2 separate regions of the Homo sapiens genome follow, and region 2 is linked to region 1. The links are contacts of gene promoters, found by promoter capture Hi-C in blood cells and fetal thymus (Javierre and others, 2016). All regions are on one chromosome and are shown on one strand. The core of a region is centred on a gene start or on the middle of the fragment in contact, and the rest is flanking DNA. Distances in the headings are between cores, read along the strand shown. Region 1 holds the start of ZRANB2-AS1 (ZRANB2 antisense RNA 1). Region 2 holds the start of LINC03102 (long intergenic non-protein coding RNA 3102).

The links. The method cuts DNA at HindIII sites, captures the fragments that hold promoters and counts their contacts. A CHiCAGO score of 5 or more calls a contact.
Region 2: the fragment with the promoter of LINC03102 here is called in contact with the fragment with the promoter of ZRANB2-AS1 in region 1 in 1 of 17 cell types (activated CD4 T cells); the score reaches 7.6 in activated CD4 T cells.

What each region holds. Positions count from the first base shown.
Region 1 is chr1:71,045,082-71,049,540 of GRCh38, forward strand. It overlaps ZRANB2-AS1 (ZRANB2 antisense RNA 1), which reads left to right and starts at 1,425. Exons shown (of 3, transcript NR_038420.1): 1 at 1,425-2,508; 2 at 3,733-3,907. PTGER3 (prostaglandin E receptor 3) reads right to left here and starts at 2,735. Exons shown (of 4, transcript NM_198719.2): 1 at 1,600-2,735. The coding sequence starts at 2,496. RefSeq lists an enhancer at 2,149-2,732. The HindIII fragment of the contact is 6,286 bases long and covers 1-4,459 here.
Region 2 is chr1:70,358,235-70,362,855 of GRCh38, forward strand. LINC03102 (long intergenic non-protein coding RNA 3102) reads right to left here and starts at 2,203. Exons shown (of 2, transcript NR_183713.1): 1 at 2,063-2,203; 2 at 1,325-1,761. The region is part of intron 1 of ANKRD13C-DT (ANKRD13C divergent transcript); the gene reads left to right. RefSeq lists an enhancer at 839-898 and a silencer at 2,135-2,328. The HindIII fragment of the contact is 2,416 bases long and covers 727-3,142 here.

The sequences.
Region 1 (4,459 bases), core at 175-2,674:
GAGTTCCAACTCCTGGAATAAAGAACTGTGACCATACAGCGACTTGTGGGCAGTTAGGTCTCAGCATAACACTCCTTGTCCCCTCATGTCACTGATTTGGAGCCAAGGTTTGTGCTCCAATCTACCAAACCAGGTTAAAGAAATTACATTTCTATTTTCAAATGCAAGGGATTTAAAAGTATACATGGCGCACAAAAAACTCAACGTACTTAATGCCTAATGCCACTGAACTGTACACATAATAATGGTTAAAATACTGAATTGTATGTAATATATTTTACCATAATTAGGAAAGAAAAAAAACTGCGTTCACGTGTTTCAAAGGTTTTCCACAACTGTATAATACATATAGTTGGTTATACCTTTGTAACAGTGACCATATCGCTCTTTCTGCAACATCTATTAACCCAGACACCCCAGGGCCTAAGTAAGCATCCATTCTTCAGGAATTAGTAAACAGCACTTACACACGGACATTTCTAGCTAAAAGTAACACAGACAAAAAAACCTCAAAAATATCACGTAAGGGCAGGTGTTAGGCAAAGAGCCTCTGCAAACATCCCTTGCTCCTCTGCATTGCTCTGGTGTGAGGAGCTAGGACATGGAGAAACCTCTACCTCCTATCTCAGGATTAGCGAACCCTGCTTGAGTGCTACAAGGGTAAGTAAATGCTGGCCTGAAGAAGCTGCTGAGCTTCCGGATCCCACTGACTGTCGTTCGGGCACTTCCTAGAGGGTCAAGCACCATGGCGAAAGGCTGAGGAGGCAACTCGTATCTTTCATTCTCCTGCCTCATCAAGAATGAACCTTGAAGGCACCCATAGGTCGCGCAGTCTTTCAGAAGCTGCAGGAGGGCTGTGACTGTATGGGGTTGCAGACTGAAAATCTTATTAACGTGAAAGAGGAATTTGAAATTAAAAAAAAAAAACCCGGCCGGGCGCGGTGGCTCACGCTTGTAATCCCAGCACTTTGGGAGGCCGAGGCGGGTGGATCACGAGGTCAGGAGATCGAGACCACGGTGAAACCCCGTCTCTACTAAAAATAAAAAAAAAAAATTAGCCGGGCGTGGTGGCGGGCGCCTGTAGTCCCAGCTACTCGGAGAGGCTGAGGCAGGAGAATGGCGTGAACCCGGGAGGCGGAGCTTGCAGTGAGCCGAGGCTGCGCCACTGTACTCCAGCCTGGGTGACAGAGCGAGACTCCGTCTCAAAAAAAAAAAAAAAAAAAAACCCCACAATATCAGGCTACAGTTATCATAGCAATTCTGCTTTTAATGCACTCAGGACAAACTTCTAGCTCTGCATATATGTCATTTCAATGACACATCCTGTCTCCTACCCGACTAGAATGTGAGCAGCCCTGTGATCTCTATGTGCTCATAAACAGTGCCTAATGCGAATCCTGGCTCTTGGAAGGCGCTCAGCTAGTAAGTGAGGAGCTCAGCTCTGAAGCTGTAACCAAGACCGCGCGGGCAGGAGGAAAGGACACTTCAGCGCTCTGCGGTTGCAAACACACCCCTGCGGGTGCTGCCACTTAGCAAAGTCTTAGGTTCCCGCTTACTCGCACACGCATCCTGACTTCCCCCAACCCTGGAACTACCTACCAGGAGCGGAGACCAGCAGACCGACAGCACGCACATGATCCCCATAAGCTGAATGGCCGTCTCGGTCGTGATGCGGCCCCACTGGGCACTGGACTGAGATGCCGTGGCCTTGGCCCGGCAGCGGGACACCAGGGCCTTAATGGTGGCCAGGTTGCAGGAAAAGGTGACTGTCAGCGCCAAGAGCCCCAGGAAGGCAAAGGCAGAGGCGAAGAAAAGGTTGCCCCAGTTATGCGAAGAGCTAGTCCCGTTGCCCCCTCGCCCGGTGCTGATGAAGCACCACGTCCCGGGCCACTGGACGGTGTACTGGCCCACGCCCAGCACCGGCAGCAGGGCGAAGGCGAGCACGGCCAGCCACACGCCGAGCAGCACAGCGCGGGTGGCACGCGTCTTCATGTGGCTCGCATACCAGTGCGGCGCCCTGATGGCCAGCGCCCGCTCGACGGCCATGGCGCTGGCGATGAACAACGAGGAGAGCCCGAAAACAGTCATGGTCAGCCCGAAAAAGGTGCAGAGCCGCCCCGACGGGTCGATGTGCTCCCAACGCTGCTTGGACAGGTACACGACGATGACGACCGGGGTGGTGAGAAGCTGCCCGACCAGGTCGGTGAGCGCCAGCCAGCCGATGCACAGCAGGAAGGACTTCTTGCGCTTGCTCTCCCGGCGCCGGTAGCTGCGCGACACGAGCAGCATGGCCAGTGCGTTGCCCACGAAACCAGTGAGCAGCATGGTGATCGGGAAGGCCACGGACACCGATCCGCAATCCTCGCCAGACCCTGGAGGGCGCGTGAGGTTGCCCCGCGCCTCGGCGGAACGCTCGGGCGCCCACATGCCTGTGTAGGAGTGGTTGAGGCGGGTGCAGAAGGGGGCATCCCCTCCGTAGCCCCGGGTCTCCTTCATGTTGGCTTCGAGGTGAGGAGGGGATGGCGTCCAGAGAGCCGCAGCGGGAGGGGGCAGACGCGGCGCGGGCGGCGGCGGAGGTCGGCGTTTACCGCGGCTGGGGCTGGGCTGCCCCCCATGGTGCGGGGCGCAGCCGCCGCCCTACTCCGCTGCTGGGACCGCGGCCGCGGCGGCGCCAGGGCTCACTGGCCCGGGAGGGAGCCACGCCTTCCTCTCTGGGAAACCTCTGGTGGCGAGGCGCGCGGAGGTGCCGAGTCCCCTTTATAAGGCCGAGGGGGCGGGGCGCCCGTGGGTGTGGACAGAACCGAGGTGGGAGGAGGGTGCAAAGCAACTGAGCGCCTCTCTTGGCTGTTGCCTATCCTGATCGCCTGGGTTGGGAAGCCCCAGACGGTCTCCTCTGAAACGCCCTGCTCCTGGCCGGACCGGGAGCCCACTGGGGTCTCCTCCAGTTCTCCGCTAAAGTGTCGGTGGACGGCAAGCAGCTAATAAGTAGCACTGGACTTGCGGACCCCAGGCAAACTGCCGAGGCGCACCTGAGCGCTCGTCCTCCTGCTTCTTCAACCACAAACGCTCCTACAGGGACGGGATCCTTCTCCTGAAGTCCTTTAGTAACTCTGGTAAAGTGAAAATCGCCTGTCCTTAAGCAATCCACACAAGCCTTTGCATAGCTGATCGTTAACTTTTTTCCTTTCTGCTTTGTGACTCTAGAGTGATTATAAAAAGGCCAAGGTGTCCTGTCCCCTGGGGTGCCGCTGAAAACTATAAAATTACTAGACAGTGCCTGTAGACTTAAGGGAATAGACACAGGGAAACAAATACATCGGATGGTTGAATTCCAAGACCAAGAAATCCCAACTACTACCCCTCGCCTAATCCTGCCCGCTCCCCTCCCCACCACCCAACAAAAAGGTCAGCTATGGCAAAAGTGGCTACAGGAAGGTGGCATCAATTTGCATATCTGAGGTAGTGAAATCAACTGCTCCCAGCCTATGGGAGTGAGAGGGGAGCAGAAGAGAAAGGTATTCCTTACAAAGCCTCCAACCATCCTTCTTATCTTCATACAATAAGAACTAGAAAAGGTATTCAGATGTTATGAAGGCCTTAATCTATATGGAAACTTTGCCTTTGAAATAATAAACATTGAATGAAAATAGGCATACTTGCTTGCCTCGTAACATCTTTCAGTAAGCCAATATTTTATGTACTTCTCACAAGCATTTTCTCATTTTATCACAGAAATCCTCCAAGGTACTATTGCTATTATTATTTCCCTTAAAGGTGGGGTAACTGAGGCCCCATGAAGTTAAAGAATGTTCCTGAAGTCTCTCAGCAATTCTCAAGTCCCATCTTATTTGAAGCATGTATTCCTGACATGGGTCCCATAACTGCTCTCAGCAGATGAATATTAACGGTGAGATCATCTTCCCCTAATCTTGGGAAAGTCTTGTGTTTTTTGCTTTTTGCCTTTTTACACTGTCTAAGAGATGAAAAGATTTTTAAAAATAATTGCAAAGTTCATTTTTCCTCATATTTAAGAAATTAGACTTAATCATATAGCACTCTAAAGACCATTATTTTGATTGACACAGATCAACTTTCAGAACAAGCCCAATCAGTTTTGCCTTTCCTAGCTTAGCTGATGTTCTGTATGGGTGTTCTTAACTTTTAAATTACTGTTAAGAGGTAAGAATGGGATATGTCCCTCTGCATACTTTATGTGCTGTTGTCTTGATTCTGTATGAGAGTTTGAAAAAATATCACTATAACATTATATGTTTTTTAAAGAAGGAAAAGCAAGAATGCAACTTAAACTCCATTTTAATAAGATGCATTAATCACAACATGAATTTCATTTTGTGTTTTGCTGTCATTTAAAAATGTTTTGCACTTTTGCGTTTTACTGACTAAAATGTCACGTTTACAATGGGAACAACAGCTAGGAAGGGTGAAATGGTTTGATTCT
Region 2 (4,621 bases), core at 953-3,452, 690 kb before region 1:
TTTCACCATGTTGGCCAGGCTGAGTCTCGAACTTCTGACCTCAGGTGATCCGCCCACCTCGGCCTCCCAAAGTGCTGGGATTACAGGCATGAGCCACCACACCAAGACTTATTTTTTGTTGTTTTTTGAGTCTCATTTTGTCAGCTAGGCTGGAGTGCAGTGGCATGATCTCAGCTCACTGCAACTTCCACCTCCCATGCTCAAGTGGATCCTCCCGCCTCAGCCTCCCAAGTGCTGGGACTACAGGGCCCAGCTAATTTTTGTATTTTTTTGTAGAGACTGGGTTTGGCCATGTCACCCAGGCTAGTCTCAAACTCCTGGACTCAAGCCATCTACCCACCTCGGCTTCCTGAAGTGTTGGGATTACAGGTGTGAGCTACTGCCCCCAGCCCATTCATTATTATTATTATTTTTTATAGAGGCCGTGTCTCACTATGTTGGTCAGGCTGGTCTTGAACTCCTGGGCCCAGGTGATCCTTCCACCTCAGCCTCCCAAAGTGCTGAGATGACAGGTGTGAGCCACTGCACTTGGCCCCATCCATTATTTTTAAGGGCTTGTAAAAATGACAGAAATGTAAGATTACAATATATTATAAAAAAGATAGAAATATGATTGTAATACATTATGAAAAATACAAGGATTGAAATTATATAAGCTCCCAATACAATATAGAAAAGGAAGTCATTAATTCTATTTGGGGAAAATAGAAATTGGATGATCAGAAAAGCTTTCTGGGGCTGGGCGTGGTAGCTCATGCCTGTAATCCCAGCACTTTGGAAGGCCGAGGTGGGCAAGTCACTTGAGGTCAGGAGTTCAAGATCAGCCTGACCAACATGGTGAAACCCCATTTCTACTGAAAAATACAAAAAGAATCAGCCAGGCATGGTGACGTCTGCTTGTAGTCCCAGCTGCTCGGGAGGCTGAGGCAGGAGAATGGCTTGAACCCAGGAGGCAAAGGTTGCAGTGAGATTGCACCACTGCACACCAGCCTGGGCGATAGAGCGAGACTCTGTCTAAAAAAATAAATAAATAAATAAAAGAATTACATCAAATTTTATCCCTTCTTAGCACAAATTTTTTTTTAACTTGGCATAGAATTCAGAGCCAGGAAATTGTGTTGAACTAACTTTCCAAATAAAATTTAGCATGTCATTCTATTATGAACGTATGCCACAAACCACAATAGTATTAGCATTAGTAGTACCTGTGACTTCACAACCAAAAAAACCACAGGTATTTTCATTTCACATAACAGTTGCTGCAGACAACTCAAAATTTCATTTATAGTCATTAGTACCTCTAAAATTATCTTAATAGGTATGCTCATTGCTATATCTTGTTCTTTAATTAGTTAATAAAGAAGCATATACATTACTGTATTACAAATTTGCTTTTAAAATATTTTGTTAGGTATTTCAATACTCAGAGTTTCCTTTTAATCCAAAATATTTTATGCATTTAAAAACACTGTTCTGAAAATGGGTCCCTGGGTTTCTCCACACTGCCAAAGAGTCAATGGCACAAAAACAGAAGTTAGGAACTTCTTCTTAGGAATCTTTGATGATACCTGCCCATTCGTCTCCTTTTCTCTCCTATCCAACAAACCCATCGTTCTGAATTAGGTGTCCCTCCTTTGTCTTCTTTTTGATTTCCCATTGTAACTTCTGCATGCCTCCTTGATATTCTTGTCTGGTCTCAACTAATCCTTGGAGCTCTCTGAGCACTGGAATCATGCTGATCATTGCTGTATGCACAGTGCCCTACAGGGAGTGAATGCTTATATTAATAATAAGCAGTTGTTGAATTAATCAGTCTATTAGAACACAAAACCCCAAGTATCTACAAGGTACTAAGACAACTGCAGACTCAGTAATGAGATGCTAAATAAACTTCTTAAATAATCCCAATATAACTACACTGAAATTAGCTGCTACACTCTTGAATTCTTACATGAAGCCAAAGAGTAGATATATCATTTAGGACTTTTTGTTTTTCATGTAGAAGTAACAATAAATTCAATTGAAACAGGGTTAAATTAAAGGAATGTATTGACTTACATACCAGAAAGGTGCAGAGATAAGTCTTCAAGAGTGGCCCCTCAGGATCCCATGTCAGTTTTTCAGTGAATCTCTCGGTGTTTCTCTCTGTATGAGGAGTCCTCCTCAGGCCTGCTTCCTTCAAGAACACAAGATAACTGCCAGCAGGTAAAAGCAGCCACGTGCTTCCTCCTTAAGGTCCAAAGGAGTTCCTGCTCCCACATAAATCTGGAGTATGACAGTTACAAGATAACTCAGTCCAATCTGTGTCCCAGAGAACGGTGATTGGCTCAAGCCTGGGTTATCTGACAAACCCCTGTGAAGGAGGGGTTACTCAGATTAGTTTCACCCAATCAGGATTGATCTCGGAGCCGGAGGTGGGGCCCAGCTCTCCAAACAGTGAACTGTTTCATAATGGGAATGAGGTGGGGAATAATGTTGGAGAGACAAATGCAAGAGTGGTCAGCAAAAGTACTATATCCAAAGACTTAAAACAGGATTTTGCTTCAAAAAAATCTGTTATCACAGTGTCTTGAATTCAATATGATAAAATATGTAGTGATTATCAATTATATCAATATGTAATGAGTAAATAACTTCACTGGTAAACACTGTATTTACTTTTTATTCAAATTTTACAAGATAGAATGCAATCCATCAATTCAAGTATAGAACTAAACTACTGGCCAGGCGCAGTGGCTCACGCCTGTAATCCCAGCACTTTGGGAGGCTGAGGCGGGTGGATCACCTGAGGCCAGGAGTTCGAGACCAGCCTGGCCAACATGGCGAAACCCCGTCTCTACTAAAAATACAAAAATTAGCCGGACGTGGTGGTGGACCCCTATAATCCAAGCTACCTGGGAGGCTGAGGCAGGAGAATCGCTTGAACCTGGGAGGCAGAGGTTGCAGTGAGCCGAGATTGTGCCATTGCACTCCTGCCTGGGCAACAGAGCTAGACTCCATGCCAAAAGGAAAAAAAAAAAAACCCTGAGAACTAAACTACTGAATTTGCTAGGTAATACTCTGTAGTTCTACAAATTAGCAAATTAATTTCTCTCCTGGTGTAGTTAACTCAATAATGCTCAATTTGCCTTGAATAGCAAAAAGCTTCTGAAAAATGAATGTTTTTCAACTTTTTCTAATGAGAGTTTTGTTAGATAGTTATGTGCTCACCAACACCAAACACTGACTAGACAGTTAAATCTGTCTCTAAGAAAGAACGTTGTGAATTTTGCCAGAAATTTATGTATCTCTATTAGCCCTACACAAAGCACCTAATCCCTGTCCTGGTGTCTTCATTTAACAAAAGCAGTAGTATGGTAACATGAAATACAGAACAGCAGTACTGTACAAAATAAAATCTCACTCGTTATATTTTTTAAATATATCAACAGACTTCCAATTAGGATCTGTAGTTACTAACCTTACTCAATTCTCATTGCATTGCATACTAATAATGTTTCTAATGTAAATATTAGTGCAAGTTTAGTCTACATCTTTTTTCTTTCATCTTCTCTGAAGATTTGTGTTTTATATTCTCACAATAATCTGGAATATGATTTCCTACATTCCACAATGGTTGAACAAGATCTAGGAGTATTTTGTTTGATAGATGATAGGGCTATCTAACTAATGAGGTAATTGTCTCTGAAATCTGACGACACAGCAGTACACTGACAGATGAAAATAACAAACCATGTAAATCAATACTTAATTCACACATTTTACTTCCATCTCCCTGGGTCTCAGTATTTTTCTCTTTCCTCTAAATCTGCCCCCTTCCTTTCTCAGAGGCAATGCAGAGCACTTTCCCTTTCTTCTACGGTTTCTGATCAGTGGTTATCAGTGATTTTGTAAAATTTCTCTTAAGTAATCAGAAAAAAAATCTGAGAAGCAGGGGTTGCCAAGGAAACCAGAGCCAATAACAGCTGGAAGTTCCTGAAGGAAGAAATTCCTTTGAGACAGATAAAACCTACAGACTGATTTGGAGGAAGAAGGAGAAAAAATGCCAGGAGCACAGTGAAAGGCTGAGTCAATGAGATGAAAAGGAAAAGATAAAGTGAAACATTCATAATTAAAATTATTTTTAGATCGACAAAGGCTAGAAACAAGAGAATTAGAACAGAGACAGGAATGGGTTTTTTAGTGAAAGAAGAGGTTAAGACACAATGGGTAGGCCCAACACTTTGGAAGACCGAGGCAGGCGGATCACTTGGGGCCAGGAGTTCGAGACCAGACTGGCCAACATGACGAAAACCCATCTCTACTAAAAATATAAAAATTAGCCAGGCTTGGTGGTACATGCCTATAATCCCAGTTACTACAGAGGCCGAGCAGGAGAAATGCTTGAACCTGGCAAGCGGAGGTTACAGTGAGCCGAGATCCAGCCTGGGTGACAGGGCAAGACTGTCTCAAAAAAAAAAAAAAGGCACAATGGGTAGTGTGTAAGAGATTAAATGGTATAGATAGACAAGGGTCAGTACATGTGTCCATAGCTTCCTGAATATGTTTTATTTTAAATTACTTTATTGCTCAGAATATATGTAACTACATCTGTATCTGTAGTCTAAATACTCCGGGCTGG